3 separate regions of the Homo sapiens genome follow, and regions 2 and 3 are each linked to region 1. Evidence: promoter capture Hi-C in human tissues and cell types (Jung and others, 2019). All regions are on one chromosome and are shown on one strand. Each heading gives the region's core, a stretch centred on a gene start or on the middle of the fragment in contact. The rest is flanking DNA. Distances are from core to core; before and after follow the strand shown. Region 1 holds the start of RORB (RAR related orphan receptor B). Region 2 overlaps RORB (RAR related orphan receptor B). Region 3 overlaps RORB (RAR related orphan receptor B).

Evidence for each region. The method cuts DNA at HindIII sites, captures the fragments that hold promoters and counts their contacts. A contact is called where the count stands out against the background at its distance.
Region 2: a contact is called between a fragment that was not itself captured here and the fragment with the promoter of RORB in region 1, in 3 of the 25 tissues and cell types used here (H1 embryonic stem cells, dorsolateral prefrontal cortex and hippocampus).
Region 3: a contact is called between a fragment that was not itself captured here and the fragment with the promoter of RORB in region 1, in 2 of the 25 tissues and cell types used here (hippocampus and thymus).

The regions. Positions count from the first base shown.
Region 1 is chr9:74,494,208-74,498,916 of GRCh38, forward strand. It overlaps RORB (RAR related orphan receptor B), which reads left to right and starts at 3,128. Exons shown (of 10, transcript NM_006914.4): 1 at 3,128-3,776. The coding sequence starts at 3,770. RORB-AS1 (RORB antisense RNA 1) reads right to left here and starts at 4,346. Exons shown (of 5, transcript NR_125791.1): 1 at 4,035-4,346. RefSeq lists silencers at 2,764-2,976, 2,972-3,161, 3,066-3,360. The HindIII fragment of the contact is 7,823 bases long and covers 1-4,709 here.
Region 2 is chr9:74,565,324-74,569,869 of GRCh38, forward strand. The region is part of intron 1 of RORB (RAR related orphan receptor B); the gene reads left to right. Among named protein-coding and RNA genes, the nearest start is that of RORB-AS1, 69 kb to the left of the region's middle. The HindIII fragment of the contact is 3,953 bases long and covers 1-3,927 here.
Region 3 is chr9:74,582,971-74,587,126 of GRCh38, forward strand. All of the region lies in intron 1 of RORB (RAR related orphan receptor B), which reads left to right. Among named protein-coding and RNA genes, the nearest start is that of RORB-AS1, 86 kb to the left of the region's middle. The HindIII fragment of the contact is 7,443 bases long and covers 1-4,156 here.

The DNA.
Region 1 (4,709 bases), core at 1,878-4,377:
TTTTGGATGCCTTCAGCAACAGGGAACTCAGTACTTCCCTTCCCACTTGTAAAAGGTTTGAATGTTAAAAGTTCTTACATTTTTCTGGCTTTTCTAATATTTAATAGCAGCTTTATATCTCTTTCCCAATTTTCACAGCCACACAGCTCCCTAAATAGAGTTAAACATAACCAATCTTTCAGTCATTCCTAAAAGTAACATTGTTATCAGTATTGCTAATGTCCATTCAAGAGTCTTAATTATTTAAAATATTCCCTGACCAGTGAATATTCTGACTTATCAGCTCAGAATAACATGAACTATGACTTCCTGTTTAAGCCTTTTAGGATTGAAATAATCCTAAATGCCATGGTCACCCTACCTGGTTGGCTTATATTAAAACTTTGCCTCTTTCAGGATATTTGTTGTCATTCCTATTCTGTGGTACAGCTCAACCTGAGGGGTGCTAATGTGTCAGAAAAACAGGTAAGCAGGCAAGCCTAAGTGGAATCTGATGTCAATTCTTGAGATTGAGGACAGTGCTATGTGACTGATTGTCATTTAAATTAATCAACATGCAACTGTCAACTTAGAAAATCCTTCAGGCCCAGAGTGAAAAGCAGAGTTTCAAGCTTATAGGAAACCAGACATAATCATTCAAATAAAATTACTGATACCGTACTTCATATGAGCTAGGACATTACAGTAATGTATTATTATTATGCCACTTGAAATATGATTATTTGCTGGCAGATAGGTTACAAAACCATCAGATTATATATATGTGCTTTGTGAGTTCTTAGAAAATACTGACTTCTTTCATTCAAATTCTTAATATTTATTTTAAATAAATGGGCTCCATTCAGTGAAATAAATGTGAAAATTATTAGAAATATTCAACAAACCAGTTTTTAAATTTTTAGAAAGATCCAAAATGTCCCAGGCCGCCACATTATAACCAATGATTAGCATTTAAAGAGAAAATACATACTTTTGTATCACCATATATAGAGATTATATACATAGTTTTGAAAAATGAAATAATATAGTCTTCTAATTAATAATTTCTCCAAAAATACTCAGAAGGAATTAAGAAATATGTTCTAAGCAAAATTATGCCTTGCTGAAACCACAAAATAAAGAGAATATAAAAATGTATGGGGGGGTAAATACTTTTTATACACGTGTTGACTACCTTTTTCAAGGATTACAGATATTGCAGCATTAAAAAAAAATTCAGAATTCAATAAATGTTTAGAAAGTTAAAATTACATAAATGTTTAAATTTTTGGATTTTGAAATTCCTGTTCACTCTAAAGAGAAATAGAAATCTAAAATGATAACAACAACAATAATAATTAGACAATGTTTACAAAGCCTTTGGAATTTTCAATATTCTTGTGTCTCTGCTTGAAGCAACAAAATTAAAATGATATAGTCACAATTTGTTTCTTGACTATTTTATATTCAGTAATTTTTAATGAAGCAACTAAATTAGGCATAACTTTGTACAGCTTTAACATAGTTATGATGAATATATTTTACTTGATTAAAAATGATAAAACCAGGGAGCCTTAAATATTATCTTAAAAGATTAACTACTGTGTCAATTACAAATCTAGGAGAAAGATATTTATAAAGGAATAACTATTCTAAACAGTAACTTCCTTTTGTTCATTTCATTTAATTAATGACTCAATCAACTTTCACTCTTAATACTAAAATTTTCCTAAATTACACATTGGTTTGCAAATGGGATGGCATATAGCAGGGCTACGTCAATTTAATACTGGTGAAAATTCAGCAGATAATTCATTTTTCATTTAATCAGGAAGGAAAAAACTACTTGGCAGTGTAGAGCGACCTAATTAACTAAATAACTGCCAATTCTACATTGTACTTTGTGTTACATGACATATCATGAATAAATACCAGTCAAAAATCAAATTATTTGGATACTTAAATGATGATGAGGCCTGCTGTGCCAACAGGTATGCTAATGAGTAGACATCTCCCAGCCTCAAGACTGAGTGAATGAGGCAAATATTTTCACCTCCCAATCTTTTAGGGTGTTCAATTAACTCAAGTATTTAAGAAGTTCCCTACTATTGGGAAGGAAGTAGATGTAATCATCTATATGCTTATTTTGTCAACTGAGTTGGAAAAACTTGCAAAGGAACAGTTTGGATATATGTATTAGATTTTTATCAAAATACAAATAAATGGTCATAGATGACAATTTTCACCTAAGGAATACAAGTAAGTTTATCTATGTTCAGTTACCAATCGCCTCTAACTAAAGTTAACAATGTCTTCCTTCTAAAACCTTTCTAAAGAGCACCCTGCAATCACACCTTCTAGCAACAGCCATTTCTCTTGAATTAGTAAGGTGGCTACACCGCCAATTTGAGCTGTTCTCCTTCAGTCCTGTAGTCCATCGCCAGGGGAGTCTCCAAATGCTAATAAAAATCAATTTCCCAGACAAAAGAACATATACACGTTTTTTTCTTTCTTTCTTTCTTTTTTTTTTTTTTTTAGAAGAGGGTCAGGGAGCATCTGACGGACGTTTTTAAAGGAAGGGGACAGCTACTTCCATGGGACTGCATTTTAGTTGTGCTAAAAGTGATGAAAGTGGGTTTGCATTATTCTACCACCAACACCCAAACCACCTGCCCACGGAAACCCCCGCCGGAGACCGAAGTTTACCCAAATAGCGCTCGGCAAAGCGCTGCCATAAATTCAAAACTAACTCTGCCGGGCCCGCGGGGGTTGCGAGACAGGGACCGAACGTGAAACCCGGGGAGCCCCGCGTCTCTTGCCTCCGAAGGTTTTCCGTGATCAGTGTCCCCTTCTCTGCTGGAGTCGGAAGTGCCTGTCACCTGCGGATCTGCCCGACTCTCCCGGTCGGCCCTTCTTCTCTGCCCAGTTCGGACAGTCTCGAATTCCCCGTCGCAGCCCCGGCCACCTCGGACTCCCTGGTCCCCAGCCCCCGCCCCACCCCCCGCCTCCACCACGTCCCCTCCCCGCGGTCCCAGCCTCTCCAGGCGCTGCTGGGCTCTGATTGGCGGCTGCGCTGACAGCAGGCGGGGCCTGGAAGTCGCGGCCAAGCCCGCCCTCGCGTATAAGCCCCTCTCAGCGCTCTCTCTCCATCTCTCCCCTCTCTTTCTCTCTCGCTGCTCCCTTCCTCCCTGTAACTGAACAGTGAAAATTCACATTGTGGATCCGCTAACAGGCACAGATGTCATGTGAAAACGCACATGCTCTGCCATCCACACCGCCTTTCTTTCTTTTCTTTCTGTTTCCTTTTTTCCCCCTTGTTCCTTCTCCCTCTTCTTTGTAACTAACAAAACCACCACCAACTCCTCCTCCTGCTGCTGCCCTTCCTCCTCCTCCTCAGTCCAAGTGATCACAAAAGAAATCTTCTGAGCCGGAGGCGGTGGCATTTTTTAAAAAGCAAGCACATTGGAGAGAAAGAAAAAGAAAAACAAAACCAAAACAAAACCCAGGCACCAGACAGCCAGAACATTTTTTTTTCACCCTTCCTGAAAACAAACAAACAAACAAACAATCATCAAAACAGTCACCACCAACATCAAAACTGTTAACATAGCGGCGGCGGCGGCAAACGTCACCCTGCAGCCACGGCGTCCGCCTAAAGGGATGGTTTTCTCGGCAGAGCAGCTCTTCGCCGACCACCTTCTTCACTCGTGCTGAGCGGGATTTTTGGGCTCTCCGGGGTTCGGGCTGGGAGCAGCTTCATGACTACGCGGAGCGGGAGAGCGGCCACACCATGCGAGGTAAGCGAGTCTGCGGGCACCGAGGCTCCCCGAGTCCGGCCAACTCCAGCCAGACGGGGAGATGGGGGAGGGGAGGGCACCCAGCAGAAAGGGAAAGAGGTTGCCCAGGCGCAGTTCCCCGAATTCGCTCTCGCAGGTGGGGCTGCAAATGGCCTGGGCGTAGAAAGTTGCGGGAAGGTGTTGATGTCTTTCGGGAGTTCTGGAGGGACGCGGGAGGGCGCTTTTTTGGAGAGGGGAGACAGGCTAGTTGGTTCTTACCAGTCCTTGAGTTGCACTGAATCTTTTTTGCTTGTCGCTCTCGGGTGCGGAAGCGGACGCGGGATGGAGAAAGCCGAAAGAGGGATGCCTCTGGACAGGAGCAGTTTGGAAGCGCCCGGCGCGCAGTGGTCGCCGGCCGGGTTTGGGCGCGCGGGGCGCACCGGCCGGGGGCAGGGTGGACACGCGCGGGCACACACTCGCCAGGTTACGAGGCCCACTAAGCGTCCTGGCCAGCAGGCATGTCCCTTCGCTGGAGTAGCAAGCAGAAGAGCAGTGCTGCGAGGCTGGACGCGGCTGAGGAAACAGTTAGTTCCCCGGCACGCGGCTGAGGAAACAGTTCTGCGGCGCGCGCCTTCGTGCCGGCGCTGCGCCCTGGCCAGGTCCTCGTGCCCGAGCCCGCGCGGCCCAGGGAGTAGTGCGACCCCGGAAAAGTTGTAATGAGAAAGTTCTGGAGGCTTGGAAAGGCCACACTGCTCACAGTCGGAGAGTCATGGGCTCCGGCTCTTTTGTCAGATAAAGGGCCGGTAGTGGAAGGAGGTGCTGGTGCACCCTCGGGCCAGGACCCTCGCAGTCGCAGGCGGTGGCGGCGGCGGCGGCGGGACCCCGGGGCGAGCTGGGGTCTGCAGGGATGCGCGCCAGGGACTGTAGCGTTACGCTTGCTCCGGCTGGACTCTG
Region 2 (4,546 bases), core at 701-3,200, 70 kb after region 1:
TTTCTAACTGTTTCTTCTTTGGTTTAACATCTAGTAACTTTGAGTAGGAGAACAATGAATCTTTGAGACATATTCACTTCAAAATCAATATGTTGAGTAACATCACATAAATGATGAGTTTCGTCACTGTTCATTGCCAGCTCTCATTTTTGCTGGCAAATATCAGCATCAAAATTTTCATAAGCATTCTGTACCTTAGAGATCAAAGTGGTTTTGTTTACTTTTAATTTGATAAGTAGACGTGTGACCCCTAAGTAGTTAAATTTATCAATTGTGAAGTTAAGATGAAAATTATTTATCTTTACATTTATTCAAAAAGTGAAATGTAAAAACTTGTCTTAATATCTTAGACCATGCCTTTCCCTAAAAAGCATCTTCTTTTTCATACATTTTTATTTAAGCTTTTCTGCTTGTGTGTTGGCAAAATAAATCTTTTTCAGGTTATATGTGATTATCCTACAGATATGCTGTTGAGTGAGATCTCCTACTTTCATCATCTATACTTAGACTTAAGTCAGAGTCCCCTTCATGTCTCTTACATGAATATCAGAATTGCCTAATTCGAATTAAAACTTCCCTGATTAATGACAAGTGCTCTTTGAACAAGATGTTCTGATGATCTCCAATCCTAAAATTCCTCATTCAATGGGTTGTGTAAAAATACTTCATACATTTCAGTATTGCTCTCAGGCACTGATGAAGTATTAATATGGGTGAAAAAGACCATAGTCATCAATGTATGTGCTACTTATTGAGGGCAATGGTAAATCTGCTTCCTTCCTCTGCTGTCCTTTACCAACCCCTGTCACCTCAAACGATGAAAGGAAGAGTGAGGAAATGATAAAATCCAAGACCAGGGAAATCCATTAGCCCAAATATGCTCTCCATTATTGCCTTTCATCAAAAGCTTTTACAGCAATTCATTTTTTTCTGGCTCTATGAAATCTAAACTTTTTAAGTTAGAATCTCAAAGTCATTCTGCTTCATAGAGTTGTTGGGAAGATACTAGATAATGCATATACATTTCTTCTCATGTTTTGAGAACATATTATTTATGTTATTTTCTATTATTTTGTTAGTTGTATTAGTTGTATTATTCTGTCTCTACTACTATCAACAGTTTTGTGTTTCCACAGTGGTTCTTTACATCTTCTTCTCCAAATCTTCATCTTTTATAAAATAAGCCCTTCCGGCCGGGCACAGTGGCTCACACCTGTAATCCCAAGACTTTGGGAAGCCGAGGTGGGTGGATCACCTGTGGTCAGGAGTTCGAGACTAGCCTGGCCAACATGGTGAAACCCCGTCTCTACTAAAAACACAAAAATTAGCTGGGTGTGGTGGCATGCACCTGTAGTCCCAGGTACTCGCAAGAGTGAGGCAAAAGAATCACTTGAATCCAGGAGGTGGAGGTTGCAGTGAGCTGAGATGGTGCCACTGCGCTCCAACCTGGAAACAGGGCGAGATTCCATCTCAAAAAAATAAATAAATAAAATAAAGAAGCAGGGTAAGATATAAGGCTGATAGCCCCAAATAAATCAGAGATGTCATTAGTATTTCAGTTATTCAGCCATACTGACGTTGTCATTTGTTTATGTGACTTTTCTTTCTATGTAGGAACCTAAAATAACCCAGAAGTTTCTGTGGGTTTTGGTTTTCCAAAAGCTGTTGCTTGCCTACCTCATTTGGGGCAACAAATGCCCACCCCACCCTTTTTTTTTTTCTGAGACAGAGGCTCGCTCTGTCGCCCAGGCTGGAGTGCAACGGCGTGATCTCGGCTCACTACAACCTCTGCCTCCCGGGTTCAAGGGATTCCCGTCTCAACCTCCCGACTACCTGGAAATACACGCACACACCACCACACCCGGCTAATTTTTTGTATTTTTAGTAGAGACGAGGTTTCACCATGTTGCCCAGGCTGGTCTTGAACTCCTGTTCTCAAGTGATCCACCCGCCTTGGCCTCCCAAAGTGCTGGAATTATGGGTGTGAGCCACCGCGTCTGGTCGGAATGCCCTCTACTTGAGAGGACCCTCTCTAGTCCCAGGAAAGCTGGATGGATTCCAAAGGAAGGAAACAGAGATTGACACAAGACAACATTGAATTGAACCTTCACATTTTCTTCTTGGTTGCTGAGCTCACATAACCAAGATAGGGAAAGGGATAGGAATTCAGAGTAGGTAATGGCAAGGACAGAAAAGTCAAGTTCCCCAATGTCACAGCTCTCAGAAACAGGAACATGATAAATGTAGGGGGAAATGAGGGTCTCCACTGAAACCATAGTTGTAATAGATCCTATGGTTTAATAGAAACCATAGTTTTAACAGGATCTATTAAATTGAATTTAATTCAGCACCACAGTCTCCCCTCATTCTGAGACTTTGTTCCCACTCGTAAGGAAAATGGTACCACTTATGAAAGATAAAGACTCAGCAGTCCCATTTTCAAAACTCTGAAGTATTCCTCTCTCTGAGCGAGTGGTTCCTTTCATTCGAAGGCATTGCATGTATGTGTGCTTTCTTTGGAATGGAAGTGCCATGAAAGAAAACACATTTTGACGAATTCCAGAGGAAGCATCAAGAACTGCCAGGTGACTTGTCATAGAGCTTTCAAGCCTAGTGTCATTTTATTTTTACAACCCAGGGTTTTAGCAACTCAAGAGGCTTTATATGTGTTCATTAACCGCAAATCTGTAATTTAAATGGACAAATTATCCTGGTTAATAATCTAACACATCATTCCCAATTCTTCCTGCTGTCAATATTCGAAACAGAGCTCAATATTCCAAATTTTTATAACACCTTTCACATGTTAAGTGGGTACAGTTTTGACACACAAGACAAAATAAAATAAAATTCCGTACTGGACAACACTCACAAAAGCTGCTTGATTCAGGTGAAAAGTATTTTGCTTCCATATTGGCCTAGAGCATCTATTTATGTATTTTTTTTTTTGAAAATAGAAACTCAAAAAAATTATTGTGATTTTTTTAGGTCATTATATAAGGGATAGAGAGAGGTCACCTAAAATGATGAAAATTAGCACAATAAATATGACTGTGAGAGCAGCAATCAATTCTTTTCTTAAGAAAATTAAACCGGAGCCGGGCACGGTGGCTCACGCCTGTAATCCCAGCACTTTGGGAGGCCGAGGTGGGTGGATAATGAGGTCAGGAGTTCAAGACCAGCCTGGCCAAGATGGTGAAACCCCGTCTCTACTAAAAATACAAAAATTAGCCAGGTGTGGTGGTGGGCACCTATAATCCCAGCTACTCGGGAGGCTGAGGCAGGAGAATCACTTGAACCCGGGAAGCAGAGGTTGAAGTGAGCCAAGGTCGCGCCATTGCACTCCAGCCTGGGCGACAAAGAAAGACTCCATCTCAAAAAAAAAAAAAAAGAAAAAAAGAAAATTAACTGGAAGTTTGTCTTTAAAAATATTACAATAGTTTGAACTAGCATTATCACCTAGAGTGAAATGAACATTTAAAATCTAAACCTAAAATCATATTTATAAGTATAAATGTATATTAAAATATTTGCAGTTTCCTCAAGATATTTATAGTGTCACAGTTCTAAAGTTATGAAAATCTTTCATCTTTTATCAAATATTAAAAATCATACACTCAAAAAAGCCCTTATTAGAAGAACTCTTCTTCTAAGAAAACATAATATGTTTAGCTAGAAACGTTAGTATGAATGTACCAATGTTAAGGTTTTTGTTAGCTGAACAGGTTGTTGCTAGGATAAATATAAACCATTGATATATTATAGTGTAAATAACCATATATGAATGTATTTCAGTCACCAGACACAAATGAAAAAAATTCTTAATAGATCATTATAAAATGGAATTGTTATTATTGTTATGCAAGTCCAAATTGGGAGGTCATTAATTAATACAATGGTATATCTGTCATTATTTCAAGCTTTATCTTATAAAGCTTGTGTTTATTTTTCTTAGTTTTTATGAATACATGAGATGCTTTTTTTAACTCTGCTGTTAAGAAGACTGTACTCAAAGACATTGGGAATGTAAATATATATTAAAGTATATAGTGTATAGTGTAGCCATAGGCAGGTTTATTTATAAATGTCAATGCTATTTTGTTGTGAAAGTTCATTATGATGACAGTTTTAAAAGTAGGGCCAATTCAAGAGTGTTTATTACATACCAAAAAAAGGAAAAAATATTTACCTTGTATTTTTTGATGTCTGGGGATAAGATTAATTTATAAATCGATGTGTTGCATTGAAATAGCAAATGTAAAAACCAGTCACAAATACTAGCCTTAAAGGTAGAATGTGTGCTGTTTTTATAAGGCCCTGCTCATCATTGAAACCAGGTGACTTTAAAAATAATCTACAAAATTAAAAAATTTGAAATTTGGTTTAAAATTTTAAAATACCTCAGAAAAACAATAAAAAGGAAATTATATACTGCATTTGTCACAAATCTGACAACTCTAATACAAATATGCATTTCTCTTTCTTTGACTGTATATAAATAAGGCCAAATATCTAGCTTGTTAAATTAAAGATTCACCTGTATGTT
Region 3 (4,156 bases), core at 1,266-3,765, 88 kb after region 1:
TCAACCTTCTCAGGTGTCTATATGGGATCATATGTCCTACAGGCCCTACTCATGAATAAGGCAACAATGTGGCACATGGACTGGGCCCCCATGTACACAAGTGGAAGGTTGGGGAATGCATATGTTGCTCCCTCTACCCACCCTCTTTCCCCAAAAGTCTGCAAGGCATACCACTTCAAGGACTGACACAAACCTACTTTTTAATCTAGGGCTCATGTAAGTGTTTCTTTTTACCAACTTACTATTGCCTCAGTAGATGGTTATAAAGCAGCAGCTAGACTAAAGAAGAACTGCCACGTACCCAGGCAGACAATTCCCAAAGCTGCACATGCCCCCAAGCACCTTCTCCGAACACCCAAACATTTCCCACAGAAACAATGGATCCATTTTCTGTAGACAGTCATGGTAATTCTGCAAAACAGATACTGCTTTACATCTCTTTTAAGGATGGTTTATATTTCCAAATATTTATTATATCCTGAATTTGGGTTACTAATTCTACAGGTAACCCAAATTAGGTTACTAATTTGTAACCTAATTTGGTTACAAATTAGGTAACCCAAATTAGGTTACTAATTCTACAGGTATTTGTTTGCCAAATGATTGTTTTGTCCAGGGAGCATTTTCAATCAAACAGATTTCCAAAAGTTACCCCCAGGTTGATGTTCTGTCAGTTGTAGAAGATGAACAGTTCAGACCACAAACCAGCTCTATCCATCCTTAGAACTCAGGCTGTAGTGAGGATATTGGCATATGGCTGAAGTATAGCATCTAAGGAGTAAATATTATTTAGCACTAACCCTCTCAACTTTTTTGAGATTCTCAAAGCTGAATCCAAATATGCTCAGTGTTAGTTCTGGTGGGCCGTCTACTAGTAAAAGATGTCTCTTCCCTCTATAAAGCAGAATTCAGCATTTGCCAGCCAGAAAATAAGCTCACTAGCAGACAGACTGAGCACTTTGATGGTGTTGCTCAAGCTTATGCAAATGTTGTCTTTGTGTAGAACGGGTACAAAAATGCAACTTTTTCTGTGAGATAACATTTCAGAGGACTTAGCTTGTGCTATCTGTCTGTGTGCCAGTCTTGACAGCCATAAACACTTTCTCTAACCTTGAGACTTTGGCTGGAGAAGCTGAGAATTAAAAAATATTAATATCATGAAATAGGCTATTACTGGTAGGCTCAGTGCAGCAAGTCATGCAGAATTTTATTGCTATTCCCTGTGCGGTCTTACCAATTATGTGGGTTTTGTTGTAGCTTTTTTAAATACCGCTATGTCATTACTGCGCATGTATAGATAGTATGATGGAGTGGTAGAGAGTTCCTTGGGAGCCAGTCTGTCTGGAGTTGTACTCGCTGCATAACCTTGGGCAAAATATTTATCCTCTCTATGCCTCTCAGTTTTCTTATGCAAAATGGGTATTATGATAGCATAATTACTTATAGGGTTGTTGTGAAGATTAAATGAGATAATAGATAAAACAGGACTTACTACAATGTTCAGCTTATAGTCAGTACTCATTTAAATGTTAGTTTCTTATTATTTCTGCAGGAAGTGTGGTATGCTTGGTTCTAAAGAGCAGTCTGGGACTTTCACCATGCCGTTTATTGCATCAGAAAGGTTATCTGTTGGTTCTCAGAGCCCAGAGTCTACTGATCTTCATTTCAGCCCAGTATCACAGAGGACAGAAAGCCATTAATGGAACACACCCAGCAAGACTTTAGTTTATTCTATTTGAAGTCATTGTTTGTTGGTATTGGAAATACATCATTGGTAATGGAGATAGTGGCTACTGTCATAGACCCTCAGACTCATGGAGCTATAGGAAAAAGGGAGGCAGGAGCCACAGAATGAGTCTGGGAGCTGCCTTTAGAGTGGATAGCCAGTTATGCTAATGAAAGCTTCTGGCACTAGGACTGGCTATCAATGGATGGGAAGTTGTGTTGTTGGATACAAAACAACGATGCAAAAACAAATGCTATGGAATGTGTTGAAAGTGATGATACACCCAGGGCTCAGGTGGACTGGGTCCCCATCCCCCGTCCAATCTCAGCCCTAATGCAGTGGTCCAGCCAGAGATCTTCAGGGTAATGGCAGAGCCACCCAACCTATACCCACACTAAGTATTGCCTTCAGACTAAATAACTATTATCTCAAATAGATAAATGCAGCCATTTTTCAAATGTGATGTTTTACTGAGTGCATCGATAGCATTTTATAATTGTTAATCCTCCCCATCAACAGCTTCCAAAAGTACGACTCAGGATGGGTCTGAAAACTTACCTGTTCCAAAGCAGGCCTTTTTATTCCAAATTTTGGGAACTACTCTCCCTAGCATAATCTCAAAATATATCAAGGACTGAAAGAGTAAAAATATATGAAAATACAAAAGCAAATGGAGTTCTCCAAAGGTTGAGTAACATATTCTATATAAAACCCCACACTTTTATTTTCTTTTAATGTAAGCAGGTGTCTGCTATCAGATTTTTCAACCAGGTCACAAATTATTCCGAAGTTGTCAAACTGAAAATGTAGTGCCTTTTGGTAATCTTGGTAAAGTCCTCTCCTCCTTCTGAATTCTGTGTTAGACAGAAGGCAGCTGATAGCTATAGTCTACCTTTTGCCTTGTCCTGACCATTAGATTATGAAGAACAGCCTCATTGGTACTATACCGTCAACTAGTCCCTTTTTTCTCCGCTATAAAAAGCTATTCACATGGTTTGTGCATATTACCACTCAATTCTAACCCTATGTAAGCTCATGAGCATTTAGATATTTTTTAAAAATCTACACAGCACTCTTTTCACAGGGGATATTTATTTATTTATTTATTTATTTATTGAGACGGATTCTCGCTCTGTCGCCCAGACTGGAGTGCAGTGGAGCGATCTCGGCTCACTGCAAGCTCCGCCTCCCGGGTTCACGCCATTCTCCTGCCTCAGCCTCCCGAGTAGCTGGGACTACAGGCGCGTGCCACCATGCCCGGCTAATTTTTTGTGTTTTTAGTAGAGACAGGGTTTCACCGTGTTAGCCAGGATGGTCTCAATCTCCTGACCTCGTGATCCGCCCGCCTCGACCTCCCAAAGTGCTGGGATTACAGGCATGAGCCACTGCGCCCAGCCTCACAGGACATATTTAAAGAGCATAAGATACTTATAAATTTACCAAAGTGTTAATGACCTACAGATGTTAATGGCATATAAAATCTAGAGTTAACAGATATATTGTAGAGAAGTGTATTTTGGGCCAGGTGCAGTCGCTCATGCCTGTAAACCCAGCACTTTGGGAGGCCAAAGCAGGTGGATCACTTGAGTCCAGGAGTTCAAGACCGGCCTTGGCAACATGGCAAAACCCTATCTCTACAAAATATACAAAAATTAGCCAGGCATGGTGGCACATCCCTGTAGTCCCAACAACTTGGGAGGCTGAGGCAGGAGAATCATTTGAGCCTGGGACATGGAGGTTGCAGTAAGCCTAGATGGTACCACTGCACTCCAGCCTGGGTGACAGAATGAGAACCTGTCTGAAAAGAAAAGAAAAAAGAGAGAAATATATTTTATTTATTTGTATTTGTATGGTTGTTTTGAAAACAATAAAATCGTATGCAAATGAGTACATATGTAATGTCCGTGTGTGTGTGTGTGTGTGTGTGTGTGTGTGTGTGTGTATTTTCAGATTATTTTATTCTGGGAATCATTGTTCCTACTTCTTATGCTACTCCACATGGACAAAGTTGGAATATTTTCTCTAAATGTGGCACATGTTTTTATTTGTGTTTTGCTCTGTATTTGAATGTAGAGTAGAACAGGGATTACCAGAGCATGTGCCAGTATCACTCAGGAGGTCAATGAGATTGAAGAAAGTTTTTAACTTTAGTTTAATCATACAATTAACAATGTAGCCTTCTCCTGTCCATGTCAATGTAGATGCATTGTTCAGTTTTTTTAACCTCATGCTCCATACTATGTCATATCTGATACCCAGTGAGCTCCTAACCAATCTGTCCACTCCCTTGGTACAGACATTAGCTGGTACTGCCTTACAGATCAGATTGTTTAACTTTGGATTTTAACTTTCTCCATCAACAAATTAAACAACTTCATCTAAACTGAGAGTAATACTATGAATGATATAAATACTTATGAATTAATAATG